3 separate regions of the Homo sapiens genome follow, and regions 1 and 3 are each linked to region 2. The links are contacts of gene promoters, found by promoter capture Hi-C in human tissues and cell types (Jung and others, 2019). All regions are on one chromosome and are shown on one strand. Each heading gives the region's core, a stretch centred on a gene start or on the middle of the fragment in contact. The rest is flanking DNA. Distances are from core to core; before and after follow the strand shown.

Region 1 (4,256 bases), core at 750-3,249, 1.4 Mb after region 2:
CCCACCTTGGCCTCCCAAAGTGCTGGGATTACAGTGAGCCACCGCGCCTGGCCCAATTTTTTGTATTTTTAGTACAGACGGGGTTTCACTATGTTGGCCAGGCTGTTCTCAAGCTCTTGACCTCAGGTGATCCACCTGCCTCGGCCTCCCAAAATGCTGGGATTACAGGTATGAGCCATGGTGCCCAACCCCGCCCCCCTTAGGTTTTAATGAGAGTCCTGGGTGGTCTTTGAAGGCCTAGGTGGATGCTGGTGTCAGGATCCTGAACCCAAGTCCCTGATTTCATAAAAAGCATCCGGAATCCTGCTTTCCTGCCACTGTTATCCCACAGGGGACAGGGCAGGAGTTGGCAGCTCAGGGCTGGTGAGAAGTCCAGAGGGCTAGCCAGGCACTCTGGCCATGCTCTTCCTAGGTGGCCTGAGAGTCCATATACTGAGCCAAGATGGCGGCCTTCCAGTTGCAGGAGTGTTAGGCCAGCCCAGATTGGCAAGCTGGGTTCTCCAGGCCCTGGGCCAGTATTCTGGACTGGGACTCAGTGGACTTTGAAGAGGTAGAATTCCCTAAGTCGGCCTCTCTCCTTGATAATTTACCCAGAATGGCCCAGATGACAATCTGGGTACAAAATATTTCAGTCCATTTCATCATGTTTACCAAGTACCAGGAGTCAATAGAATTTATGAGTGATAACTAAAGGGTAAGGCACTTTACATCTTAATCCTCTCAGCCACCTTGTAAAGCAGGTATTATCTCCATTTTTAAGTCGTGGAAACTGAGGTCCAGGGAGGCACAAGATCACATGACTAAGGGAGTGGGGAAAGCCAGGATTGGAGATTGGGTTAATAGGGCTCCAAAATGCCTGATCTTTCCACTCCCCTGAGTGCTCAGGGGTGATGAAGATGACTAAGACCCTGTTCCTTCCCTTGGGAGGGAGCGAAATACCCACTCCAGCTAACTATTGCATGGGTCAGGGTGACATCACCACCTCTGCAGCAGATGGAGGCTGATTCATCTGTGGGAGAGTCAGGAGGGGCCTCTGCGGAAGGGTCGGCTGGCTGGAAGGGTTGGCTGGCTGGAAGGGTCGGTTGGCTGGCGGGGGTTTTGAAGACGGCAAAGATAGAGAATGAGCCTTGGGGAGGTTCCAGGGCCAGATACAAACTGCCTGTATGCCTCCCAGGCAGGGGCCTCCTTGGCCTAGGTCCTTCCCATAGGAACTCAAACCACCACCACACTAACCATGGCTGAGGGGACCCGGCAGGCCGCAGTGGGGAGGGACGAGATCCCTGAGCTTACACAGGGGCTGAGGGGAGCTCAGTGAATCACCTAGGGGACACCTGGACCAAAGGTGGCGGAGGGGCGCATGGGTCTCCCTGCCAAGCTATGGGGGAGGGGATGGTGGACATGACAACTTCCAGCTCAGCGGTGCTTTAGGGTGGGGAGCCGGGATGAGGGAAGCTGGTGGCTATCCGGGGGGGGGTGCTCTGAGGTCTGCAGGGGAACTGCCTCCCCAAAGTTTCAAGCTAGGGGTGGAAGGGGGGATTTGCGGTCATTAGGAGCGGGAAGGAGGCCGGATGGGAGCACGAGGTGTCCCGCCTCCAAAGGGTGGAGGGCTCCCGGTGGGTGGCGCGGCGGCGGCCGCGGCGGTGAAGTCATCGTGGGGAGTGGTCCGCTTGCGGCGGGTGCGGGGGCTTCGCGGGCACCCAGTGGAGCAGCGGGAGCCCGGCGCCGTCGAGGGGCGGGCGATGGGGCGCCGGCCCGTCTTGGTAGGGGTGGGCTCCGCACTGGAGGCGGAGCTGCTGCTGGGTGGGGCGCGCCTCCGGCGCGGACGGAGGCGGCGGGACGCCCGCTCCCACGACCGGCCCACAATGAGGCGAGCGGGCAGCGCGGAGTAGGCGGCGGCCGGCCGGGCCGGGCCACGCGGCGGCGCTGCTCGGGCAGGTTAGGGCAGGGCCGCGGGGCGCCCGAGCGAGGACACCGCGGCCCCGCCTCCGCCCCTCCCCTCGCCTGCCGGTCGGCGCCCGAGCTCGGAGCCGCAGCCGCAGCCGGAAACCGGGCCCGCGCGGCGGCCGCCGTCCCGGCCAAGCCGGGGCCCCGAAGCCAGAGCCGGAGCCGGGCGGGCCGCGGGGTCATGGCTGGGCCGCGGGGCGCGCTGCTGGCCTGGTGCCGCCGCCAGTGCGAGGGCTACCGCGGCGTGGAGATCCGCGACCTGAGCAGCTCCTTCCGGGACGGCCTGGCCTTCTGCGCCATCCTGCACCGGCACCGGCCCGACCTGCTGTGAGTGCGGGGCCCCGGGCGAGCGGGCGGCGCGGGGCGGGCTGGGGCCGCGACCGCCGCCCCCCCTCAGTAACACGAAGCCCGGGCGGTGACAGGCGCCGCCCCCGGACACGGAGACGCCGACCCCCCCGACGGCCCCGGACGCCGGGCGGGTCCCTGAGACCCCGGCCCAGGGCGCCCCTCCCCCGCCCGGCCGCCCTGACCCCGCCCGTGGGATCCCGAACTCTCCCCCGAGGCTGGTCCCTCCGCGGGGACACTGGCCCCGCCCACAAAGCGCTGATTTCCGCCGAGGATCGCTGAACCCCTAAGCCCTTGACCTCTTTGAAGGGGTGTTGAGCCCTCTTTGGGGGCCCTGGGCCTCTCCTACCCTAAACTCTTCTCCACGGGCTCGCCGGGCCTCCCCTCTCCCCCGAGGCTTCCCACTCGGGGTGGCCCCTTGCTCCGGGTGTGCAGGTGAACCCCCACTTCTCTGACCCCCAAATAGGAGCTTGTCTCCGGACAGTAGCACAGTTCCCGGCACAGAGGAGACCTCGGCTAACAGGTGTTGGATGAATGGATGTACAGACCCTGTGCTTTCCCCACGCCCCCCAACTTAGGACGCAGCCCTGCCTCCCGGGTGTGTGCTCGATGGCCCTGCAGCCCTCCTCAGTGGGGCACGCAGGTGGGGCGCGCAAGAGGAGTCACAGGCCGGCAATGTTGGGAAGACTCCTAGGATCCGATTGATAGACACCAACCGGGTGCTGCAGGTTGTGAAATGGCCCCTTCCTGCCCAGAGCTGCCCAATGAGGTTCTCATGGGAAAATGCATTCAGACTCCCCGGAACAGTTGACTTGGAGCCTCTGTCTTTGCTCTCTCTGCCTTGAGCCCTGGAACCTCTCCTCCTTTCGTCCCTTCATTCCTAAAACACTGGGTGAGTTTATCTGGTGCCATTCCTTGCACTTCAGGTCTCACCTGTGAATCAGGGAGGAGAGTTCTGGTCCCTACCCCTTTCGCATGCAGCCCTCTTGCCAGGGCTCCCCCAGCCTGGCAGATGGAGGCTTTCTGTGCCTGTTCCACCTCCAGATTTGCACTGTCCGAGGGCAGCATGTGGGAAGGCTTCTAAGGGATTGCCTCAGGATTCCATGATGCAGGTGCACCTGGTTTACCTGTATGTACCCTGCAGTACCGTGTCTGTGGGTGGTGGCTTGGGCCCTGGAGGAGAGGGTTTTGGGGCTGTGGATACAGAAGGGAACAAGATGAGGTGGTCATGTAGGTGGGCCCCTGCCCGCTGTGGGGCATGTGACACCCATACTAATGGAAGCACAAGGTTGATGCCTGGTTGCCCAGGAGCAGGGGGTAGAAGGATGGAGGAAAAGGGCACCAGGGTTAGACCTGGGCATTGGAAGGGAGGGCCCAAGGGGTCTTCTGTTTTGTTTGAGGGGCAGGAGTGAGGCAGGAAGCAGGGACAAACCCAGTGTGGGAGGGGACTTGGGTGTGAAGTGAAGCCATTTGGTGGGCCTGAGCCTGGTGGCATCAAAGTAAATAAAGGCCGCCTGGTTTGTGTTTAGCTTCTCCATGTCTTAGGCGCATGGCCTTGGGTCCTCATGGGCTCTCTCCAGGCATCAGTGTCCTCATCTGTGAGGTGGGATTGATAATGTGACACAGCTCACAGAAATGTGAGGATTGCATGAGATAACAAGCATTCATTTAACATTAGTTACTGTGAGTAACTAATGTTACTTTTTTTTTTTTTAATGTTTTTTATTTTTTTGAGATGGGGTCTCACTCTGTCACCCAGGCTGGAGTGCAGTGGCACAGTCATGGCTCACTGCAGCCCCCACCTCCCGGGCTCAAGCAATCCTCCCACCTCAACCTCCCTAGTAGCTGGGACCACAGGCACACGCCACCACGCCTGTCTAATTTGTTTGTATTTGTAGAGATGGGTTTTCACCATGTTGCCCAGGCTGGTCTTGAACTCTTGAGCTCAAGTAATCTGCCTACCTCAG
Region 2 (4,462 bases), core at 1,295-3,794:
CATGAACCCAAGCGATTCTCCCACCTCAGGCTCCTGAGTAGCTAGGACTATAGGTGCATACTACTGCATACAGCTTGCTGGGGCATGTTAGAATTCTTCTCCCAATCTGCACTGCTGATGAAGCGTGTATTGGACAATTGACTGGCGGAGATAAATCAAATATAGAAGTTGGGTGGAGGTAGAGAAATCAGTTAGGAGACAAATGTCAAACAGGCATGATGAAATGGGGCCCTGAACTAGGGCAATTATCAGTGAAATCCAGGACAGATTCAGAAGACAGCAAAGCCTTCTATTTTGCTAACAGCAAAACAGAATAATGTAAAAAAGAAGTTGGAGATGTTGGAGGCTCAGAGCTTAGGTGGAAGAAAGACAATGCTGATGGACAGCTGGCCCAGAGGCAATGACGGGACTGGGGACACATGGAAGGGGAAGGTGTTTTAGCAGAAAAACAATGGGAAGTATAATAAATCAGAGTAGATTTGAGAAATCATTTTCAAAGAGTTCATGGTTGAGGCCTGGGATGGGCAGAATTCTAAGATGACCCCCAGTGACCCTTGCCCTTGCAGAGTCTCCTCCCCTTGACTACGGGCAGAACCTATGGCTAGGATCAAGTATCACCCCCATGATCATCCTACCTTGTATGTCAAAAGGGATTTTGCAGATGTAAGGCCGCAAATCAGTTTACCTTAATATACACTACCTGGCTGGGCTCACCCAACCGTATGAGTCTCTTAAATCTAGGTGTAGAGGTCGGAGACGGAGGAAGTCAGAGATCTGAAGCACAAGAAGGATCTGATGTGCTGTTGCTATCTTGGAGATGGAGGGGGCCATGTGACAAGGAATGCAGGTGGCCTCTAGGAGCCAAGAGAGGCTCCCAGCTGACAACTGGCAGGGGGATGGGGGCCTCAGTCATCTAACTGCAGGGAAATGAACTTTACCCACAATAAGAATGGGCTTGGAAGTGGCTTTTCTTTCAGAACCTCCAGATGAGAACTCAGTTCTATTTCTATTGACACCATGATTTCTGCCTTGTTTGGATTTGTGGCCCCACCCAAACTGCATGTCAAATTGTAAACTCCAATGTTGGAGGAGGAGCATGGTGGGAGGTGACTGGATCATGGGGGCAGACTTCCCCCTTTGGCACTATTCTTGTGGTAAGAGTATTCAAGAGATCTGGTTGTTTAAAAGTGTATACCAACCTCCCCCCTCTCTTTCTCCTGCTCTGGCCATGATGTGCCTGCTTCTCCTTTGCTTTCTGCCACCATTGCAAGTTTCCTGAGGTCTCCTCAGCCACGCTTCCTCTAGAGCCTGCAGAACTGTGAGCCAATTAAACCTCTTTTCTTTATAAATCACCCACTCTCAGGCATTTCTTTACAGCAGTGTGACAATGGACTAATACAAGGACCAAGCACACAGCACTGGACTTCTAACCTACAAAACCGTGAGCTAATAAATTGGTATTGTTAGGCCGGGTGCTGTGGCTCACGCCTGTAATCCCAGCACTTTGGGAGGCCGAGGCAGGCAGATCACCTGAGGCCGGGACTTCAAGACCAGTCTGACCAACATGGAGAAACCCCATCTCTACTAAAAATACAAAATTAGCTGGGTGTGGTGGTGCATGCCTATAATCCTAGCTACTCGGGAGGCTGAGGCAGGAGAATCGCTTGAGCCCGGGAGGTAGAGGTTGCAGTGAGCCGAGATCGCACCGTTGCACTCCAGCCTGGGCAACAAGAGCGAAACTCCGTTTCAGAAAAATAAAATAAAAAATAAAAGTAAAATACATAAATCGGTATTAAGTCATTAAGTTTCTGTTAATTTGTTATGGTGCGAAAGAAAACTAATACAAAGTTATATAATACAGAAGTATGTATGGCGAAGAGAGCTGTCCAGGTGACTCCACTGGGATCAAAAAGGAGGGGAGCCAGCAAAGACGACATGCAAACGGAACAGGGAAACGGGTGAGACCAGAGTAACGCGGTAACACAGACGGCAAAACGACACAGGCACGACGGCCCTGAATGCTTTGGGGAGCTCACCAGGAAAAATCCAAGAAAAGGCCGCTGGCCCCAGAGCGGCAAACCTTCCAGTGTGCTCTTTCAACAGGTGATGTGGGCGGGGGGGCGGATTGGGAGGGGTGGGGTGGAAATAGAGGAGGAAAAGTGAAGGAAGCATGTTTCTTTCAAGGTGCCTCTGAAGAGTCAATTCTGAGCCAGATCTTAGAATCCATGAGTTAAAGAAATGAGGAATTGCAAAAAATGTGTGAAAAGATTGAAGGCAGTGGCTCAGTCAATGAAAGAAGAGGTCAAAAAGAAGAGCGGCCAGACTTACAGGAAAACTGCCAACCCAGATAATAAGGAGAGGAAAAAATCAGATGCTCAGGGAGCAGAAGTCAACAGGAGGCCACAATGGAACAGAGATGAAGAAAGTACTGGAAGAAGGGAGTTAACTGGTTCCTGCGTAAAAAATAAGCAGAAAAGTTCTTAACACTTAACATAGTTCTACACACACAGTCATGCTCTTTCTCAGCAAGGAACTAAGCAGAGGAAAAAACTCACAAGACAAAAAAAAACATCCAGGTAGCTCTATAAGTAACGAAAGGGGATAAGAAACAGTTTATACAACCTAGCCTGCGTAAACAGGCACTGTAGGGAATAGAGACATGGTGTCACCAGGAGGGTGATGGAGATGGCGGCTCACCCTGGAATCCCACTCATTGAGTGTCTTGATGTTGATGAAGGACACTTCCCCGTTGGCTCCAGTCATGACGCCATCGTGCTCACAACGGACAATAAGGTCAATATCATCTCCAAGCTTCCACCTGCGGTAACTGCAGCAAAAAAGAAACTCATGTGGTCACTGGGGATTCTATAGAGTGGGGCCCGTGCTCCAGTCTGGCCACAATACCCACCAGAGAGGTGACCTACCGGTACGCAACAGAGGCGATTTCATTCTTATCCATGTCGTCCTCCACAAACGGGTTTGGGTTGGGGAAGTTGTATCTTTCCTTCCCCTGCAAAAACAAAGGTGTCACAAGACAGAGCTAACTTTGTTGACAAGGCCAAGGCCAATCAGTCAGACCCAGCACCTCTGCTTAGTTGCAGCCCTGGCCAGGTTCCTGGGGCCCTTGATGGGGCTCTGAGCTCGCTGCCTGTTTTGTGCCTACTTGACCCCTCCCAACTGTTAGCACCTGATGAATTAGAACAATGACTTAGTAACCATGCTCATCTCTACTTCATTTTTTTGCCATGGCATATATTCACCATTTGATGTAAATCAATTTATTATTTATTGTTCACTGTGTTTCCTCCTCCACTATCATTAAATTCTGTAAGGGCAGGAACTTTGTTCAAAGTCAGAGAGCCTAACATCCAAGCCCAGGCATGTAACTCCCCTGCTAAAGGTGGGGACTGCGTCTGACCTGCTCAGTCCCACAACCAAGAGCCTAGCACAAAGCAGATGCTCCACAAACAGCAGCTGATTAAATAAGAATGAATCAATGCCCAGAGACTCGTTTCCTCACCATTCTCAAGCACTGCTGGGAGAAATTGTGGTTGATGTAGGTTGCCTCCATGGCCAGGTTGCGGGGTGAATTGAAGGAATTACCTTCATCTTGAGGGGGCTCATTGGCAGTCTCACTCACTGTCAGGAGGTCTGCAAAAGCGTGGCATGGTCACTCACCATGCAACAAAGAGTCACTGACAATGTGCGCAGCGCTGTGGGGAGATGTGGAGAGGCAAACAACACAAGTCCTTCCTTCAAAGAACTGCCCTCTCCTAAAGTGGGTCTCCCTGGTGTGGAACACATAAGCGGGGGAGTGGGGCAGCTGCTCCAGGATAACTCAAGATACTGTCCAACATTCAATTCAATCACACAGTAACGAAGCTGTCCCTTTTCAGTCGTTTTGGATTCCTCAAGAGAATGATTTTGCAAGCTTTTTAATAAAGACCTCAGGCTTCAGGCTCAGAATATAAACACTTTTTTTTTTGAGATGGAGTCTTGCTCTGTCACCCAGGTTGGAGTGCAGTGGTGTGTCCACGGCTCACTGCAACCTCTGCCTCCTGGGTTCAAGCGATTCTCCTGCCTCAGCCTCCTAAGTAGCTGGGATTACATGTGTCCACCACCACACCTGGCTAATTTTTGTATTTTTAGTAGAGACTGGGTTTCACCATGTTGGCCAGGCTTGGTCTCGATCTCCTGATGTCAAGTGATTCTCCGCCTCGGCCTCCCAAAGTGGCAGGATTACAGGTTGTGAGCCACCGTGTCCAGCCTGTTTTGTTAATTTTTGAGTGACATGGTTTTCCTTTATGGTGTATAAATACATATATGTATGGTATAAAAAATATATATGTATATACAGTAAGCAAACACTGAACAAGGTATGCAAGATGGCAAAAGTCGAAAAAGGGGTATTTAAATGAATAACATTTGGGCCAGGTGTGTTGGCTCACACCTCTAATCGCAG
Region 3 (4,265 bases), core at 204-2,703, 1.1 Mb after region 2:
AGCTCCGCCTCCTGGGTTCAAGCAATTCTCCTGCCTCAGCCTCCCGAGTAGCTGGGACTACAGGCACCCGCCACCACGCCTAGCTAATTTTTTTCTTTTTTTTTTTTTTTTTTTTTGTATTTTTAGTAGAGACGGGGTTTCACCGTAGCCAGGATGGTCTCGATCTCCTGACCTCGTGATCCGCCCACCTCAGCCTCCCAAAGTGCTGGGATTACAGGCGTGAGCCACCGAGCCCGGCCCTGAAGGTGAAATTTTTAAAGGAAAAAGGAACATTCAGGCCAAGGAGACTATCTATGCAAAGGCCAGGAGCAAAAGGCTTAGGGCACTTGGGGAATAGGAGCTAGTTGAGCTTCCAAGGTTGGGTACAAGGTACAGTTTTTCCCAAGTCGTTGGAGCTCCAGTTGCTCCTGGGGGTCACAGCCTTATCTGAAGTTGGCAGACAACTTCAAAACTGTGACACCACAGCTCACAATTCATTCATCCCCACACTGCAGACCAGTGGCTCCTCAAAGGTCCCAAGACCTGTGGTTGCTTCCAGATCACAAGGCCTCCTCCCTAAGACAGGGACCCAGCCAACCTGGGTCACCCCATTACTATTCTGGGCAATTGGCCACGACCATTCTGGATCCTGCCCTCCCGGGGCGTGCTGCAGTGACAGCCTACCAGCCTCTAGCCCAGTGCTTCCCTACCCTATCCTAGCTCACGGTAGAATCCCTGGAATTAAACCAACTAACCAACAAACCAAAAAATGCCCAGTCTTCACCCAAAACACTTACATGAGGATCTGTCCTGCTACACATCGGTGATTTCAAAAGCATTTGTCAAGACATTGAACTGTACATTTAAGATCTATGCATTTTACTATATGTAAATGATATCTGAAAATAAGTTCCCAGGGGACTCTAACGCAGTGTGAAGAACTACTGGTCTAGACCGAGGGCTCCAGCACCCAAGAAGACACCATGTGCCTCGTACCCCATCGTACACACACGTTTCTTGGGACTTCGCTCTGAACTGGAGCGTCCACGATTCAGGGGGCAATGAGATTCGACCCAAAGGCAGTTCATTTAACATCTGTTTTTCTCCCAGCAACCAGCTCGCCTAAGCTTCTGATTGGCTGGAGGGCACGGGGCCTTTCGCTTCGCGTTTTGTTTGTAGATTCTTATTGGTTAAGAAGAGCGTCAGTCTCCCACCGCGTAAGAGTGTAGTCGGCGTTGAAACTCGGCGGCGACTGGTCCAGCAGAACCAGGGACGGGGAGAAGGATCAAGCTAGCTCTTCATTGGTCCCTTCCCCTCGGTGTTGGCCACGAATCCGCCCCTCTCTCCAAGTTCCGTTAGCTCGCGGCTTCGCTCCTCTCCCAGACTCTCGCCCCCATTGGCTGCAGGCCACGCCGTCGCCCCGCCCCCCGGTCCTTCCAGCGCGCCAATTGGCGGCTGCGTGGAACGTGCCAGGGAGAGCGCGCCGTGCCCGCGGAGAGAGCGCGGCGCGGGAGGCCGGCGGCCGGCCGGCTGCATGGCGCGCTGCGAGAGGCTGCGCGGAGCGGCCCTGCGCGACGTGCTGGGCCGGGCGCAGGGGGTCCTGTTCGACTGTGACGGGGTGCTGTGGAACGGCGAGCGCGCCGTGCCGGGCGCCCCGGAGCTGCTGGAGCGGCTGGCGCGGGCCGGCAAGGCGGCTCTGTTTGTGAGCAACAACAGCCGGCGCGCGCGGCCCGAGCTGGCCCTGCGCTTCGCGCGCCTCGGCTTCGGGGGGCTGCGCGCCGAGCAGCTCTTCAGCTCCGCGCTGTGCGCCGCGCGCCTGCTGCGCCAGCGCCTGCCCGGGCCTCCGGACGCGCCGGGCGCCGTGTTCGTGCTGGGCGGCGAGGGGCTGCGCGCCGAGCTGCGCGCCGCGGGGCTGCGCCTGGCCGGGGACCCGAGCGCGGGGGACGGCGCGGCCCCGCGCGTGCGCGCCGTGCTTGTGGGCTACGACGAGCACTTCTCCTTCGCCAAGCTGAGGGAGGCGTGCGCGCACCTGCGCGACCCCGAGTGCCTACTCGTGGCCACCGACCGTGACCCATGGCACCCGCTGAGCGACGGCAGCCGGACCCCTGGTGAGCGCGGGAATGGCGGGGAAACTGAGATGGGGGCGACCTGCGCATTCGCCTCCACGCCTAAGGGTGAGGGGCGGGGAAGAGGCGTCTCCAGGTGGCAGGTGGGGAACAGGAGAGTGCGAGGGAGGCCCAGGGTGCTTTGGTGTGGGGGGCGGTTGATCCCTGTAGCCGTCATCCTGTGAGGCGCAGCAGTGTGGTCCCTGTTGGACAGATGAGGAAACTGAGGCCCTTTGTAACTTAGGGAGTTGGGCGGAATTCTGCCCTACCCACCATCGGGGTGGGGTTGGAGAGGAAGCCTGGGAGGATTGTCCCCCTGTGTGAGGGTTGAAACACCATTCCCAGAGGCAGGGTGTAGGCAGGTGTGTGGGGAGCAAAGGCGGTGGAGTTTGACCTCAGTTCCAGGTCCAGCTCCAGCTTCACAGCTGTGTAATCGTGTTCAGTTACATAACCTCCAAGCATCTCTGCCTGGGTGAGAAATGGCAGTGCTCAGCATGCCCGGTGACGGTGATCAGGGTGAGTGCCTGGCACATAGTAGGTGTTCAGATGATGTAAGTTGTAGCCAGAGTCCCCCATGTTACAGAGAACTTAATGAAACAGCTTTGTGTGTGTTCTTCTTTGGTTTCCAAATTACTCTGGAGATGGAAGTTATTGTCCCATTTCTCAAGTAAAGAGACTGAGGCAGCCGGATGCAGTGGCAACAGCCTGTAGTCCCAGCTACTCGAGAGGCTGAGGCGGGAGGATTGCTTGAGCCTAGGAGGTCAAGGCTGTAGCGTGCTATCATTGCATCTGTGAAAAGCCACTGTACTTCAGCATGGGCAACATAGTGAGACCTTATCTCTAAAAGAAGAGGAAAGAAACTGAGACTAAGAGAAGGGAAGTGAGCTGCCCAAGAACAGATATAGTGAGCCCCTCCACCTCCTGTGTCCCCACACACCTGCCTCCATCCTGCCTCTGGGAATTGGTGTTTCAGCCCTCACAAGTAGGGACAGTCCTCGCAGGCTTCCCCTCCAACCCTCCAACCGCACCCCAATGATGGGTGGGGCAGAATTCTGCCAGCAACTCTCTGGCAGAGTGATAGAGCGCGGGAACCTGAATTTGGCCTTTGTGACACCGACCTCCAGGGCAGTCTTCACTGCTGTCATCTTGCGAGTTCAGCCCTGCAGGGGAGGCAGAAGCAAAAGGAGGCTCCTCCATTGTGGAGGGTTTGCGTTAGACAAGAGCAGGTGGCAGCAGAGGCTAATTGGCAGTGGTCAGTGTGTGTGGACAGGTTAATAGCCCAGTCAGTATACTGGGGCCGTGGACAGATCTCTGTCACTCCGTCTCTGTTGGCCACTGACCCGGACAGTCATTGATATTAAATCCTGGGGGTACAGGATGGTATTGAGTGGAGAGAAGTAGACACAGGATTATGGTGGGGTGGTGAGCAGGGCCTAGTGCCAGGGGCACCTAGGAAGACTTCCTGGAGGAGGCATGATGCAGGGCAGTGATAATACACCAGGAGATGTAAACCCAGTGTTATGGCATGGCAGAGAGGGATTCTGTAGTCCTTGGCCTCTCCTGGCTGTGCTGCACACCTGCTTGGTATGTGGGCGGGCTCACCTCAGCCTCAGTTTCCCTATAAGTCTGTGTTGAGGGCTCTCTGGTCAGGGCTGTCAGCGGCAGCAGCTCCTGCCTGCCTTAGGCTATGCTATGAAAAGTTTTTCCCAGGAGGCCTCAAGGCTCAGGTTAAGGCTGTGGGTTAAGAGGTTCCCCAGGGCTCAGGAAGGCTGGTTGTCAAGGAGCTAGGGAGAAACCAGGCCCTGCCCACACCTGCCTTGCAGGCGTCTGTGGAATCCAGACCCCTTTGGTCTCAGTAGCCACCTGGCTGTGCCCACCCATCCTGCTGTCACTCCCATAGCCTAGAGGGGGAGGCAGAGGCTTAACAAATACAGCACTGCGATCATGTTTGTGCACAGCTTGATGCAGCTTTCAAACAGTGTGGTGTGGTGTGGTGTGTGTGTGTGGTGTGGTGTGGTGTGACAATATTAATAAAAGCCCCCATGATGTGTATGTCTGAAATAATGCAAATATCTCACCCCCAACTCCTCCTCCCCTGCCCCAGGGACCTCCGAAATTGTGTGTTTATCTTGTCACCACATGGCAGCCACTTGAGCTGACAAATAGAAAGGCCTGCTGTCT

What was found. The method cuts DNA at HindIII sites, captures the fragments that hold promoters and counts their contacts. A contact is called where the count stands out against the background at its distance.
Region 1: the fragment with the promoter of MICALL1 here is called in contact with a fragment that was not itself captured in region 2 in 1 of the 25 tissues and cell types used here (dorsolateral prefrontal cortex).
Region 3: a contact is called between the fragment with the promoter of PDXP here and a fragment that was not itself captured in region 2, in 1 of the 25 tissues and cell types used here (dorsolateral prefrontal cortex).

The regions. Positions count from the first base shown.
Region 1 is chr22:37,904,298-37,908,553 of GRCh38, forward strand. MICALL1 (MICAL like 1) reads left to right here and starts at 2,000. Exons shown (of 16, transcript NM_033386.4): 1 at 2,000-2,271. The coding sequence starts at 2,126. RefSeq lists enhancers at 691-1,506, 1,507-2,322, 2,323-3,138, 3,139-3,952 and silencers at 1,613-2,332, 2,443-2,552. The HindIII fragment of the contact is 31,369 bases long and covers 1-4,256 here.
Region 2 is chr22:36,513,781-36,518,242 of GRCh38, forward strand. It overlaps EIF3D (eukaryotic translation initiation factor 3 subunit D), which reads right to left. Exons shown (of 15, transcript NM_003753.4): 10 at 3,521-3,651; 11 at 2,925-3,010; 12 at 2,698-2,827. Among named protein-coding and RNA genes, the nearest start is that of FOXRED2, 9.0 kb to the left of the region's middle. The HindIII fragment of the contact is 3,595 bases long and covers 748-4,342 here.
Region 3 is chr22:37,657,270-37,661,534 of GRCh38, forward strand. PDXP (pyridoxal phosphatase) reads left to right here and starts at 1,454. Exons shown (of 2, transcript NM_020315.5): 1 at 1,454-2,087. The coding sequence starts at 1,514. It overlaps PDXP-DT (PDXP divergent transcript), which reads right to left and starts at 1,108. Exons shown (of 6, transcript NR_109952.1): 1 at 986-1,108. RefSeq lists enhancers at 1,011-1,080, 1,091-1,140, 1,329-1,830, 2,657-3,168, 3,169-3,679 and silencers at 1,331-1,640, 1,841-1,950. The HindIII fragment of the contact is 18,911 bases long and covers 1-4,265 here.